Regions from separate parts of the Homo sapiens genome. Here region 1 is linked to region 2. Evidence: promoter capture Hi-C in 16 types of primary human blood cells and fetal thymus (Javierre and others, 2016). All regions are on one chromosome and are shown on one strand. Each heading gives the region's core, a stretch centred on a gene start or on the middle of the fragment in contact. The rest is flanking DNA. Distances are from core to core; before and after follow the strand shown.

The links. Contacts are between HindIII fragments. The CHiCAGO score rates a contact against its expected background, and 5 or more counts as called.
Region 1: the fragment with the promoter of SPHK1 here is called in contact with a fragment that was not itself captured in region 2 in 1 of 17 cell types (naive B cells); the score reaches 5.1 in naive B cells.

The regions. Positions count from the first base shown.
Region 1 is chr17:76,379,780-76,385,858 of GRCh38, forward strand. It overlaps SPHK1 (sphingosine kinase 1), which reads left to right and starts at 4,830. Exons shown (of 6, transcript NM_001142601.2): 1 at 4,830-5,027; 2 at 5,672-5,875. The coding sequence starts at 5,866. RefSeq lists silencers at 3,468-3,757, 3,778-3,917, 4,498-5,197. The HindIII fragment of the contact is 9,575 bases long and covers 591-6,079 here.
Region 2 is chr17:76,544,383-76,550,503 of GRCh38, forward strand. PRCD (photoreceptor disc component) reads left to right here. Exons shown (of 5, transcript NM_001077620.3): 5 at 1-994. It also overlaps a transcript of CYGB not described here. Among named protein-coding and RNA genes, the nearest start is that of PRCD, 7.4 kb to the left of the region's middle. RefSeq lists an enhancer at 2,928-3,431. The HindIII fragment of the contact is 237 bases long and covers 2,326-2,562 here.

The DNA.
Region 1 (6,079 bases), core at 3,580-6,079, 160 kb before region 2:
CAGCCTCAGCAAGGACGACAAGGACAAGGAGACCACCCAAGGGATAGAGCTAGGGTCACCCCACCATACACTCATCATAGTCAAACCACTGGGGAGAATCAGAAACTCGGGCAAAGCACACACTCCCTGCAAGCAGCCAAGAATCTCGCATGACCAGTCTGGTCCTCTGGATCTCCACATGTGGCCACGTGTGGCGCGTGGCATCCCCTCCACCCCAATGCCTGGTATGGTCGACCTGGAAATGACATCTAGGAAACTGAGAATGGAAAGCCATGTGGGGGCAGCGCTAAGCTTTTTTTTTTCTTTTTCTTTTTTTGAGACGGAGTCTTGCTCTGTTGCCCAGGCTGGAGTACAGTGGTGCAATCTCGGCTCGCTCTTGGGTTCAAGCAGTTCTCCTGTCTCAGCCTCCTGAGCAGCTGGGACTACAGGCACCTGCCACCGCGTCCGACGAATTTTTGTATTTTTAGTAGAGATGGGGTTTCATCATCTTGGCCAGGCTGGTCTCAAATTCCTGACCTCGTGATCCACCCGCCTCAGCCTCCCAAAGTGCTGGGATTACGGGCGTGAGCCACTGCGCCCAACCAGCCCTAAGCTTTTTTTTTTTTTTTTGAGACATAGTCTTGCTCTGTCCCCAGGCAGGAGTGCAGTGGCACCATCTCAGCTCACTGCAACCTTCGCCTCCCGGGTCCAAGCGATTCTCCTGCCTCAGCCTCCCAAGTAGCTAGGATTACAGGCATGCACCACAACACCCAGCTAATTTTTGTATTTTCAGTAGAGACGGGGGTTTCACCATGTTGGCCAGGATGGTCTCAAATCTCCTGACCTCATGATCACCCGCCTTGGCCTCCCAAAGTGCTGGGATTACAGATGTGAGCCACCGTGCCCGGCCCCTAAGCTCAAAGAGCTTGTGAGATAGAACCTCCCCCTTCCCCGGTCCTTGCAACCCCCTAGGCAGTAAAGTACCATAAAAAGGGAAAAACCGGAGTGGTGGCTCATGCCTATAACCCCAGCACTTTGGGAGGCCGAGGCAGGCGGATCACTTGAGGTCAGGAGTTTGAGACCAGCTTGGCCAACATGTGAAACACAAACTCTACTAAAAATACAAAAATTAGCTAGGTGCAGTGGCTCACACTTGTAATCACAGCTATTCGGGAGGCTGAGGCAAGAGTATTGCTTGAAACCGGGAGGCAGAGGTTGCAGTGAGCCAAGATCGCGCCACTGCACTCCAGCCTCAGCCTGGGCAACAGAGCGAGACTCTGTCTCAAAAAAAAAAAAAGGGAAAGAAGTTGAGGTCAAGGAAGACCTTGAGGCTATGCAATTAGGGAGCTGAAATCTCCTAGGGAAGGTAGCTTCAGGGAAGGGTGAGATGGCAGGAATCCTCTCCTCATAAAAGCAAGTAATTTGCCATCTGGCAGCCTTGACTCCAAGTTTCTGGAGAGCTGGGACCAGGCCAGGTGAATGCCTGCTTTCTTTCTCGGGAAAAGAAAAAAGGGGGTTCTCAGGTGTGTCTCCCTGGGGAGGCTGCCCACAAGGAAGGGGAGGCTGGGGAAGTTAGAAAAAGTCTCCCACCTGTGAAGCAGATTACCTGCAAGCCAAGCTCTGGGTTGGTGATCAAATCAGACCTCTCTGCCGGCCCAGGCCTGTTCCCAGGCCCACGGTGGGCCTTGCTGAGCACAGCGGCTGCTCAGCTGTTTCCAGACTCAGGATGAAGCCTGGGGAGGGCTTGGAGCTGCTTCCTCTTTCTTTTTTTTTTTGAGATGGAGTTTCGCCCTGTCACCCAGGCTGGAGTGCAATGGGACGATCTCAGCTCACCACAACCTCTGCCTCCTGGGTGCAAGCAATTCTCCTGCCTCAGCCTCCCAAGTAGCTGGGACTACAGGTATGCGCCACCACACCCGGTGTAGAGACGGGGTTTGAGACGGGTTTCTCCACGTTGGTCAGGCTGGTCTCCAACCCCCGATCTCAGGTGATCCACCCACGTCGGCCTCCCAAAGTGCTAGGATTACAGGAGTGAGCCACTGCGCCCGGCCTGCTGCTTCCTCCTCCTCAGGGAGACGCCACAGCTCTGCGGCAAGCAATCCACCAGGCACCAGATCCCCAGATACCTGCCCTTCAGGGAGAAATAGCCTGGGATACAGAGAGGCCCAGAGGGGAGCTCTGGCTGGACTTGGCTTCTCAGCGTGGGGTCTGGGTTCACAGGTTTGCTTCTCTGCTTTGTGGGGAACTGGTTGGAGGCTTGTGCAAGCCTCTTCACCTCTCAGGGTTTCAGGCCCCCCCAACTCCTTCCCGCCTTGTCCTTTTTTCTTTTTTAAAAAAGGAAGTAAAGTACAGTGGGAAACGGGCCAAGCTGGCAGCTTGAGAGATCCAAGTGCCCGCCCCCCGACCCGCAACCGTGGGAAGGGGAACCATCTTGCTCTTGGCCAATCCTGCCTCTCTGAGCAGGGATGCAGCTGGGGGAGTTTCTGGAGATAGGATCAAATTCTTTAGAAAGGGAGAAGGGGAAAGGGGTCTGGAGAAAGGCAGCCTGGGTTGGGGGAAGTGAATGACAAGAATGAGGGGGGCAAAGGCCTTGGAGGTGAGGGGGGCAGGGGGTTAGGCGCCAGGGAGGACAGAGGACCCATTGTGCGGCCTGGAACCGGGGCCAGAGGGCTTTGCCCTTCGCCTCCCTCCCGCGGGGCCTTCCAGAGCCAGGAGGGGAGCTGGGGCCCGGAGGCGTTGGATAAAGAGCCCGTGCCCCGCCTCCCCTTGCCAACTCAGTTTGCAGTCAACCCCGCCCCCGCCCGCTCCGCGGACTCAAGGCTGGTGGTAGTGGGCCTGGAGGCGCAGGATCCGACCTTTCTGGGGCCCCAGGAGGAAAAAAAAAGGGGGGACCCTGAACCAGGTGGGCTTTATCACCACGAACTCACAGTGCTTCCCTGTGCCTCAGTTTCCCCTCTTCAGACTCTATGGCTAATGACAGAGCTTTTCAGATTTGGTGGAAATGCTCTCCGGGGCGGGGAGCAGACGGGGAAGGCTGCCCCAGCTAATCTCCGCAGCCAGTACCCTCGAAGGCTGAGATCTCGGGGAGCACAGCCTCCGATTCGCGTTTTCTAGGCACCAAAGTCCCTCGCTGGAGGAAGAGGAGGGGAAGAAGGCAGAGGAGAGGGGAGGGGCGGACGGATCTGGTCCTGGGCTCCCGCGCGGAGCCCCCTCCTCCCACAGCCGCCGCTCGCGTCCCCGCAGCGCATGACCGCGGCACTGCGGCTGCAGGGCTCTCTCCCCCGCCCGCGCCGGATTCCTGGAGCAAGGGGGTGGGGGGCTCGGAGGTGCAGGACCCATCATTCCGACACGCGCCGCGACGCCAGGAGTCGGGGATGACGCCCCTGCTCCCTCCCCTCGTTCCTGTTTCTCGGAGTTTTTCGACCCCTGAGCGCGTCGCTGAGTCACCTTCCCGGAACGCGCTCGGGACGCTCTGGACCCAGCGGGGACTGCCCGGGGGCCGCGCAAGGCGAAGGCGCACCCGCCGATACGCGCGCGGAGCTGCGGCCCCAGGGACCCCGCGTCCCAGCCAGTGCCCCCCGACCCGCCCGGGGACTCTCGGGTCCCGCCCGTCTGACCCCCCAAGTGTTGGGAAACGGGGCCGAGCTGCCTGGGTCCTCCGGAAGAGAAGACACCGCGGAGGCGTGCCGGAGTTCAGGGCGCCGCCCGGCTAATTGGCTGCGTGCTCCTCCTGGACCTGCCTCTTCTCGACTTTAAGAAGCGATGAGAGAGGTGTGTGGGGGCGGGTGGGGCCGGCGGGGGCGCGCGAGCCCCGCAGCCTCCCGCAGGGGCTTGGTTTCTCCTAACTCTGGCCCTACCTGGGCAGGTCACCAATGGGCCTTGGCAACTTCTTCCTCCGTCTCCGCCGTAACCCCCCAGGGATCTAACTCGAGGTGCTCGCGGACACGTTCTGTGGCTTGCCGCGATAAGTGTATCACAAACACACTGACAAACGCGTCCCTACTGGCCTCCAAAGAAGTGACAACTTCTGAGCGCGTTTCCGGCGCCCCTTCTTCACGCTGAGCCAGAGGGGGCGGGGGGCACGTACCACATGCTTGGCTTTCCAATCCCGACGGGGGCCCCCAGGCCCATCTACACTGTCAAGCCTCCTCTCCGGCTCGGAGCCCCCGGCCTGTCGCCTGCTCTACCCGGGACAGCGCGCTAGGCGGCCTCAGGCTCGGTAGCCCAGCTGCAGCGTCGGGAAGTTAAAAATAACCTCCGTGGGAGCGCGGGGGAGGAAGAAAGAGGGAAGCTGGTGGGCGGCGGGCGAGACGCCCCGGCCTGGAGAGGCGCCCCGGGTGGCGTGCGGGCCTCGAATTTCGGGTGGGCTAGGGCAGAGCGCGCAAAAGGGGCGCTGCATCCCGGCGCCGACAGCACCCGCGGGGGCGAGGTCGTGGCGTCGAGGTGAAACCAAGGGTCCCCCGGGAGAGCGGAGCCGCGCGCGCCCGGCGCTCGCTCCGACACGAGTTCGCGCGGAGCCCGCGCCTCCGTCTGCGCTGCGCGGTCGCTTTCGCGCGCCCCAGACACTGCGCTCGCGGCCGGGCCCGGGACTCCGCGCCTCGCGGCCTGCCGCCTCAGCTCACCCGGCCAGGTCGCGGCGCCGCCTTCTAGCCAGACGCCTAGGACGAGCGGCGGGGGCGCGCTTGCCGCTTCCTAGGACCCGGGCGGGAACCAGCTCGTGGCCCGGCCGTGGGCGCGGGCCGTGCCGGAGGCGGCGCGCTGAGGCCGGAGGCGGGCAGAGGCCGAGGCCGCGCCGGGCTCAGGTTCCACCCCCGGGAGCGCGGGGCGGAGCCAGGCCGGCGCCGAGGCTCAGTGCCCTCCCCGCTCCGCGGCGCCGGCTGCGAAGTTGAGCGAAAAGTTTGAGGCCGGAGGGAGCGAGGCCGGGGAGTCCGCTCCAGCGGGGCGCTCCAGTCCCTCAGACGTGGGCTGAGCTTGGGACGAGCTGCGTTCCGCCCCAGGCCACTGTAGGGAACGGCGGTGGCGCCTCCCCAGCAAACCGGACCGACTGGGTAGGGCCGCCCACCCTGCCTTCGCGCCGCTCGTGGCTCCTGTGCGGCCCGCCCTCGCGGGGCCCCGGGAACTGGGCCACTTGTCGCTTGGGCGAGAGCAGGCGGCAGCTGGTGGCCCGGTTCGGGCTTGGCTTTGGCGCGACCCGGGAGCGGCTCCCACGAGCGCCGCGCGCGTCGCAACGGAGCGGGGCCCTGAGAAGCGCGCGCCGCGGCTCCCACCGCTCTGGAGCTCCGGGCAGGGGACACGGCAACCTGGATGGCTGGGGCAGGGATCCTCTCCCAGAACTTCGTGCCCAGCAATGTCCGCTCAAGTTCTGGGATTTTTACGCAGCTGGACTCCCCTCCCCCTGGCAGCCCCGAGGGGTGAGGAGCTAGTCCGTCGGAGGGAGCCACGGGGCTCTGACTCATCCGTCGGGCCGGAACCGAACCCCAAGCCCCAGGGAGAAAGCCCCGGAGCAGGCGCCCTTCTCAGGGATTGTAGGCTTAGTCACACGGCGGGGGCGCCCTCGGAGGCACCGGACCTCAGCTCTCTGGACTTCCCGGGAACCTGGCTCCCCGCGCGTGGTCCCGGGATTTAGTCGGGCGCTCCCCACCTCTGGCAGCTGCGGCCCCGGACTCCGCCAGCGCTGTCTTCTCTCCCTCAGGTCCAGCCGCCGCAGGGAATGACGCCGGTGCTCCTGCAGCCACGGCTCCGGGCGGGGAAGGCGAGCCCCACAGCCGGCCCTGCGACGCCCGCCTGGGCAGCACCGATAAGGAGCTGAAGGCAGGAGCCGCCGCCACGGGCAGCGCCCCCACAGCGCCAGGGACCCCCTGGCAGCGGGAGCCGCGGGTCGAGGTTATGGATCCAGGTTTGTGGGGTTCCTGCTGGGAAGGGCTGTAGGGGGATTCCTGTTCCTCGCCAGGAATGATGGAACGCCCAGCTGGACGAAAGGGGCTGTGGACGATCGGGAGAAACATTATCCCTCACGAGGCCAGAAGCCGGCCGAATCTGAGCCAAGGAAGGGGGTGGCAGGGGCGCCGCGTCCCCACCCCAGGTCTCCCAGCAAAGGCCG
Region 2 (6,121 bases), core at 1,194-3,693:
GCAGAGCAGAGGGAACCGCTGGGGAGGCGCTCAGGGTGGGGGAGGAGGTGCACCCCGCTGGGGAGGGCCTGCTGGTACCTCGGGGAGCCTGGCTGGGGTGTGTGCGAAGGCAGTTCTGTGGGAGCCTCTCAAAGTAGGGCAGGCAGGAGGCAGGGGGAAAGTCACACTAGGGAAGGAGCCTGCAGAGGCAAAGCCAGAGCGCCAGCCTGACCCAGGCCGTGAGCCCGTGATCGCCTGTCTCAGCTCCTGTCAGCCTGTCTCTCTCTTTGGAGGCATCGGCCTTCCTGGTGACAGGCCTGTCAGGCTGAGGGCCAGAGGGCACTGTTCCCGGGACCCAGTCTGTGTTCCCCGATCCTATCTGCATTTATTCTCTATTTGCCATGTTCCTGTCACCTCATCCTTGCTGCCATTTCCGAGTTGCTCATCTCCTTCCACTGGTCTGAGGAATTGTCAGGCCAAGGTCATGGAGCTGGCTCACGGCCCAGACGCACTTCCCCAGGGCAGCGCCCCTCCACGCCACTGTTCCGAGAACCTGCGCAGGAGGTGGTGGCTGCTCCAGGGATCCATCCAGAGGAAGGGCGGGAAAAAGAGAGGAAGGGGCTGCTGGCGGCCAGCGGGGCTGTGGCTGCCTGGGCTTGGAGGTTGCCTGGGCAGCTGGGGTGCCATGTGGGCCGGGTGGGGGGGCTGTCTCCCCCAGGGAGCAGGCTGGCTTTGGTGGGAGCAGATTGTGTTTACACCTTCCCCGCACACCCAGCCCACGCTCGCCTCTTATTCCCGGGGCCTCTCCCACCCCTGGGCTCTCTGCGCAGTCTGCACATTTGCAGCTCCTGCTGCAGAAAGTTACCTCTCTCAGCCTAGAGCTCCCCACAGAAGGCTCCTGGGACCCGGGTGCCCCTTCCTTGGCCCACTGGCTCCCATCACAGGGCTTAGTGTGAAGCTCAGGGCAAGGGTGGACCTTTAAATGGGGGAATTAAATCCTGACTATGACACTGTCCCCACTGAGGCTGAGTCCTTTTTCATCCCTTTCCTTGCAAAGAGCCGCTGCTTGGGAATGGGAGCAGGAGTGCTCAGGGGCTTGGGAGAGGGCAGATAAAGGGCAGCTAGAGAGGGAGAGCTGAGCCAAAGGGTGGGGTCCCTTCTGGTCTAGGGTGCTGGCTACTGTGAAATAACAAGAGTCCAAGAGCAAGGTGTCCAGAGTCAGAGCTCCTGGGTTTGAACCTTGTTCCACCAGCACATCCTACCTCTGTGGCCTGGGTAAGTTTCTGAACACCTCTGTGCCTCAGTTTCTTTAGCTGTAGGATGGAGATCCTACTGGTATCTGTCTCTTAGAGTTGTAAGGGTTGATTAGATAACGTGTGGAAGATGCTTAGCATGTTGGGTAAGTGTCCCATATATGTGAGCTGGCACAATCCGGTTTGAACTGTAAATTACTGAACAGTGGTAGATTCAGGACGGCTAGAGTTCCTCACATCCTCACTCTCTGGTCCTTCCTGCCGTCTCTCCACATACACAGAGCTGGGCGACCGGTAGTTCTGCAACAGATCAGAGGATGGCAGAGGGTGGCATTGCTGGGGTGGGGAAGCCCCCTGTAAGCCTGTACTGGAGAAGACCACCACTGCCTCTCTGTGCCCAGAACCATGTCCCAACCTCCAGTGGTGACCTCGACCTGGACAGCGCCACTCCCAGCTGGCTCTGCTTCCGGAATGAACCTCAGCTCCTTGACAAGACGGGAGGCGCTGCCCTGCTGTGGTACCTTCCTCCGTGTGAATGCTAATATCTCTGCTGGGGGAGCCTGAGTGACGGGGAAAGGCTGCTTGGAGCTGCAGGGCGGCTGAGGGCAGCAACCAGGAGCAGGGAGGTGCTGCTCCTGCAACTGAGGCTCAGAGCGGCTGCCAGTCTCTCCTGGAGACTGGAGCATGACCAGGGAACTAATGAGGCGGTGGGGGTGTGGTGGGAGCCAGGGAAGTAGCCACTGCAGCTGTGGCTGTCCACTGTCACCCTGGGGTGTAGATGTCACCTTGGGGAGTACCCACCCATTCCAAGTGTGCGGTTGTGTGTGTGTGTGGTTTGTGTGTGTGTGTGTGTGTGTGCGCGCAGTCCTGGGCAAGGGCAAACAGTACAGGTGGTGGGCCAAGACTAGATGGGTAGGGCACAGTGCCCACTATGAGACAGGCACAATGGCGAGAGAGCAAACCCTGCTGGTTCCTCAGGCTCCCGTAGCCTCTCTGTGGGGGGCCTCACTGTTAGGAAGAAGCCCAAGACCTAGAGCTAGAGGAAGATAATGCTTCTTTGTGAACCTCAGAAGAACAGTTTGGTTCGCACGGAAGCTTATGTTAACATAATGATGATACTAATCGTATGATTAATAACCACTAACATGCATTGGGCGCTTACTATGTGCTAGGCACTGTGCCAGCTGCTGTATTTTACGCACTGTTTCATTTATGCGGCAGGAACTGTTATCATTTATCCAATAAGGAAAGTGAGGTTCACAGAACTTGCTCAAGGTCACTCATAGCTGGCAGTGAAGCCAGGACCTGAGCCTGGGAAATCTGACACCAAAGCTTGGGATAGAGGGGGCCCAAGTCTCGAGTTGGGGGCCGTGAGGAAATTTTGATTGTGACCTGTCTACAAGGCACAAGGAATGGAGCTGTGGTCCCGCCCAGCCTGCCTTTGCAAGTGGGCTGGTGTTGGCCAGGGTCATTGCCACCAATCTGTCTTCAGGAACTCACATTCAAGGGCAGACCAGACTCTAGGCCCTGAGAGGCTGGTTCTTGCCTGCCAGGTGAGGGGGAGAGGAGAGCTGCCCCTTTAGGACCCCTCAGTCTTCCTCAGGAAGGATGTGGTGGCCTCTGGCAGGGATGACAGACAGCGAGGTCATCACCCACAGTCACTGCAACTGCCACTCTGTTGCCTCCTTCAGCCAGGGGCAGGGCCCTGGGGAGAGGACAGGATGGCAGCCAGCAGCCCAGCTGGAGATGCGGAGCCTGGTGAGGAAGGTTGTTTTGATTTGTTTTTGCAGGGGGAGGGTGCAGGCCATGGAGACCAAGGAGGTGGCTTTCAGGGGGATCCGCTGACAGTGGGAAGCCAGTCCTTGTGCCTAAGGAGCACAGACCCTCTCTGTGTGACACATGTGCCCCCTAGTGGGGATGATGACTGTAGTGGGGGACTGAGAAAATTTTTAAAAATTTACTAACAGACTCAGCCTGTGCACCTGGGGAGGAGAGGCCAATCCTGTCCCTATGTGAACACACACACATTCACACACACACACACACACATATTCACACACAGAGACACCCACATTCACACACACAGACACACACACACAGAGACACATACATTCACACACACACATACACAAACACAGTCATATACCTATACAAACATATAATACACACACAGACATACACACATTCACAGAGACACACATTCACACACACACACACAACACACATTCACACACACACAGACATACACATATACATATTCACACACATACACATACACACAGACACACATAACACATTCACACACACATACACATATACAAACATATTCACACACATATACACACACATACACATAAACATACACATACATACACATTCACACACACATTCACACATACACATGCATACACAGACATACACATATACGAACATTCACACACATACACACAGACATACATGTACACACACAAATAAAACAGACACACAGAAACACACACACATAATCACAGATACACATGCATACACAGACATACACATTCACACATACACACACACATATACACCGACACATACACATTTACACACATACAGACATATACACTTATAGACACACATAGCATACACATACACACAGTCACACACACAGATACACATAAACATACATACACACAGAGAGACATACACATACACAAATACACACAGTATCATATGCAGAGGCAGAAGCCATTTGAACTAAGCATTAAAATAAATTAATGTGTTCATTTGGTCATTTATTTAACAAGCGTGTCCTGGGAACCTGCAATGTACAAACCCTGTATCAGGTGTCAGGAGTGACACTCGAGGAGAGACAGACCCTGCCCTGCTGGTTGGTCCTATAGGAAGGCCCCAGCCTCGGTGGCCTAGTTCTGCCAGCCCAACCCTGCCTGTCCCTGTGACCTTTAGTTCTCTGGACCTCGGTTTCCTCATTTGATAAACATTTGTCAAGCCCAGGTGGGCTGGAGTGAGGACGCAGAGGACTAATGATCTCCTCAGGAAAAGAACAGTTTAGTAAAATGAAGGGGATGGACCAGAAGCTCTCTGGGGGCCCCACCGACTTTCCCAATCGAAAGCAACTGTAATGAACTGTGTCTGGAGTGCTGTGTGCCAGGCACTGTGGATCCAGAAACGGATTAAGACCTTCTGCCACAAACAACCAGAAAACTGGGCAAGATATAAGCAGCAGACACTTGACAACAGGCAGCACACAGGACAGTGACCCCATGACTGCCTCAGCTTCTGCCTGGAGACAGTTCCCTGACTGTGCCTTGGGGAGGGGAAACCCAAGCGGACCACAGTGGCTTTGCTAAGGTGAGGAGGAGACAGAATCAGAGGTCAAGACAGTGTGAGATTCATAAGGATATACACACAGATCAATGGAATCCAAAAACAGATGCAGAAAGGCAATCCAATGGAGAAAGAAAGGTCCTTTCAACAGGATACAAAAAGCACTAACCAGAAAAGAAAAATCAATACACTGGACTTTATCAAAATTAAACCTCTGCTCTTGGAAAGACTAGGAGTAAATATTTGCCAAACAAAAATCTGAGAAAGGACTTGTATCCGGAATACATAAAGAACTTTTACAATTCGATAATAAGATGGCCCAATAAAAAAGTGGGGAAAGATTTTAATAGACACTACAACAAAAAATAAACATACAGCTAAAATACATAGAAAGTTGTTCGACATGCGGCTGGGCGCGGTGGCTCACGCCTGTAATACCAGCACTTTGGGAAAGAAGAAAGATACTCCACATGCAAATCAAAAGCCCAATGACATACCACTACATGCCTACCAGAGTGGTTACAGCTGAAGGCCGACCATAGTAAGTACTGTCCAAGATGTCACCCTGTCATACACGGCTGGGGACTGGTGAAGTGTTACAACCACTTGGGAAACCAGCATGGTGGTTCCTTATAAAGTTATCCCAGAGGAATGAAAACTTACATCCACAAAAAAGACTGCAAAGATGTTCATGGCAGCTTTATTACTAACAGCTCCAAACTGGAAACAACCCAAATATTCCTCGACGTGGGAACAGATAAACACACTGAGATATATAAAGATAGAATAATACTCAGCAATGAAAAGGAAATGAACTGCTGATGCCGACGACATGGGTAAATTGAGAGAAGCCAGACACAAAAGAGCCCCTACTGTGTGATGATGACATGTACACGGAATTCTAGAACAGGCAGAACCGACTGATAGTGACAGAAGGCATCAGTGGTTGACTGGGGCCGGGGTTAGATATTGTGGGGGTTGACTGCAAGGGTAAGAAGGTTTTTGTTTTTTTGTTTGTTTTTTTTTCTTTTTTTTGAGATGGAGTCTCACTTTGTCACCCAGGCTGGAGTGCAGTGGCATGATCTTGGCTCACTGCAACCTCCACCTCCTGAGTTCAAGCAATTCTCCTGCCTCAGCCTCCTGAGTAGTAGGGACTACCAGCTTACACTACCACGCCCAGCTGATGTTTGTATTTTTAGTAGAGACGGGGTTTCATCATATTGGCCAGGCTGGTCTTGAACTCCTGACCTCAAGTGATCCACCCGCCTCGGCCTCCCAAAGTGGTGGGATTACAGGTGTGAGCCACCGTGCCCAGCCTAGAAGGTTCTTTTTTTTTTTTTGAGATGGAGTTTTGCTCTCATCACCTAGGCTGGAGTGCAATGGTGCGATCTCGGCTCATTGCAACCTCGCCTCCCAGGTTCAAGTGATTCTCCTGCCTCAGCCTCCTGAGTAGCTGGGATTACAGATGCCCACCACCACGCCCAGCTAATTTTTTGTATTTTTAGTAGAGACGGGGTTTCGCCACGTTGGCCAGGCTGGTCTCAAACTCCTGACCTCAGGTGATC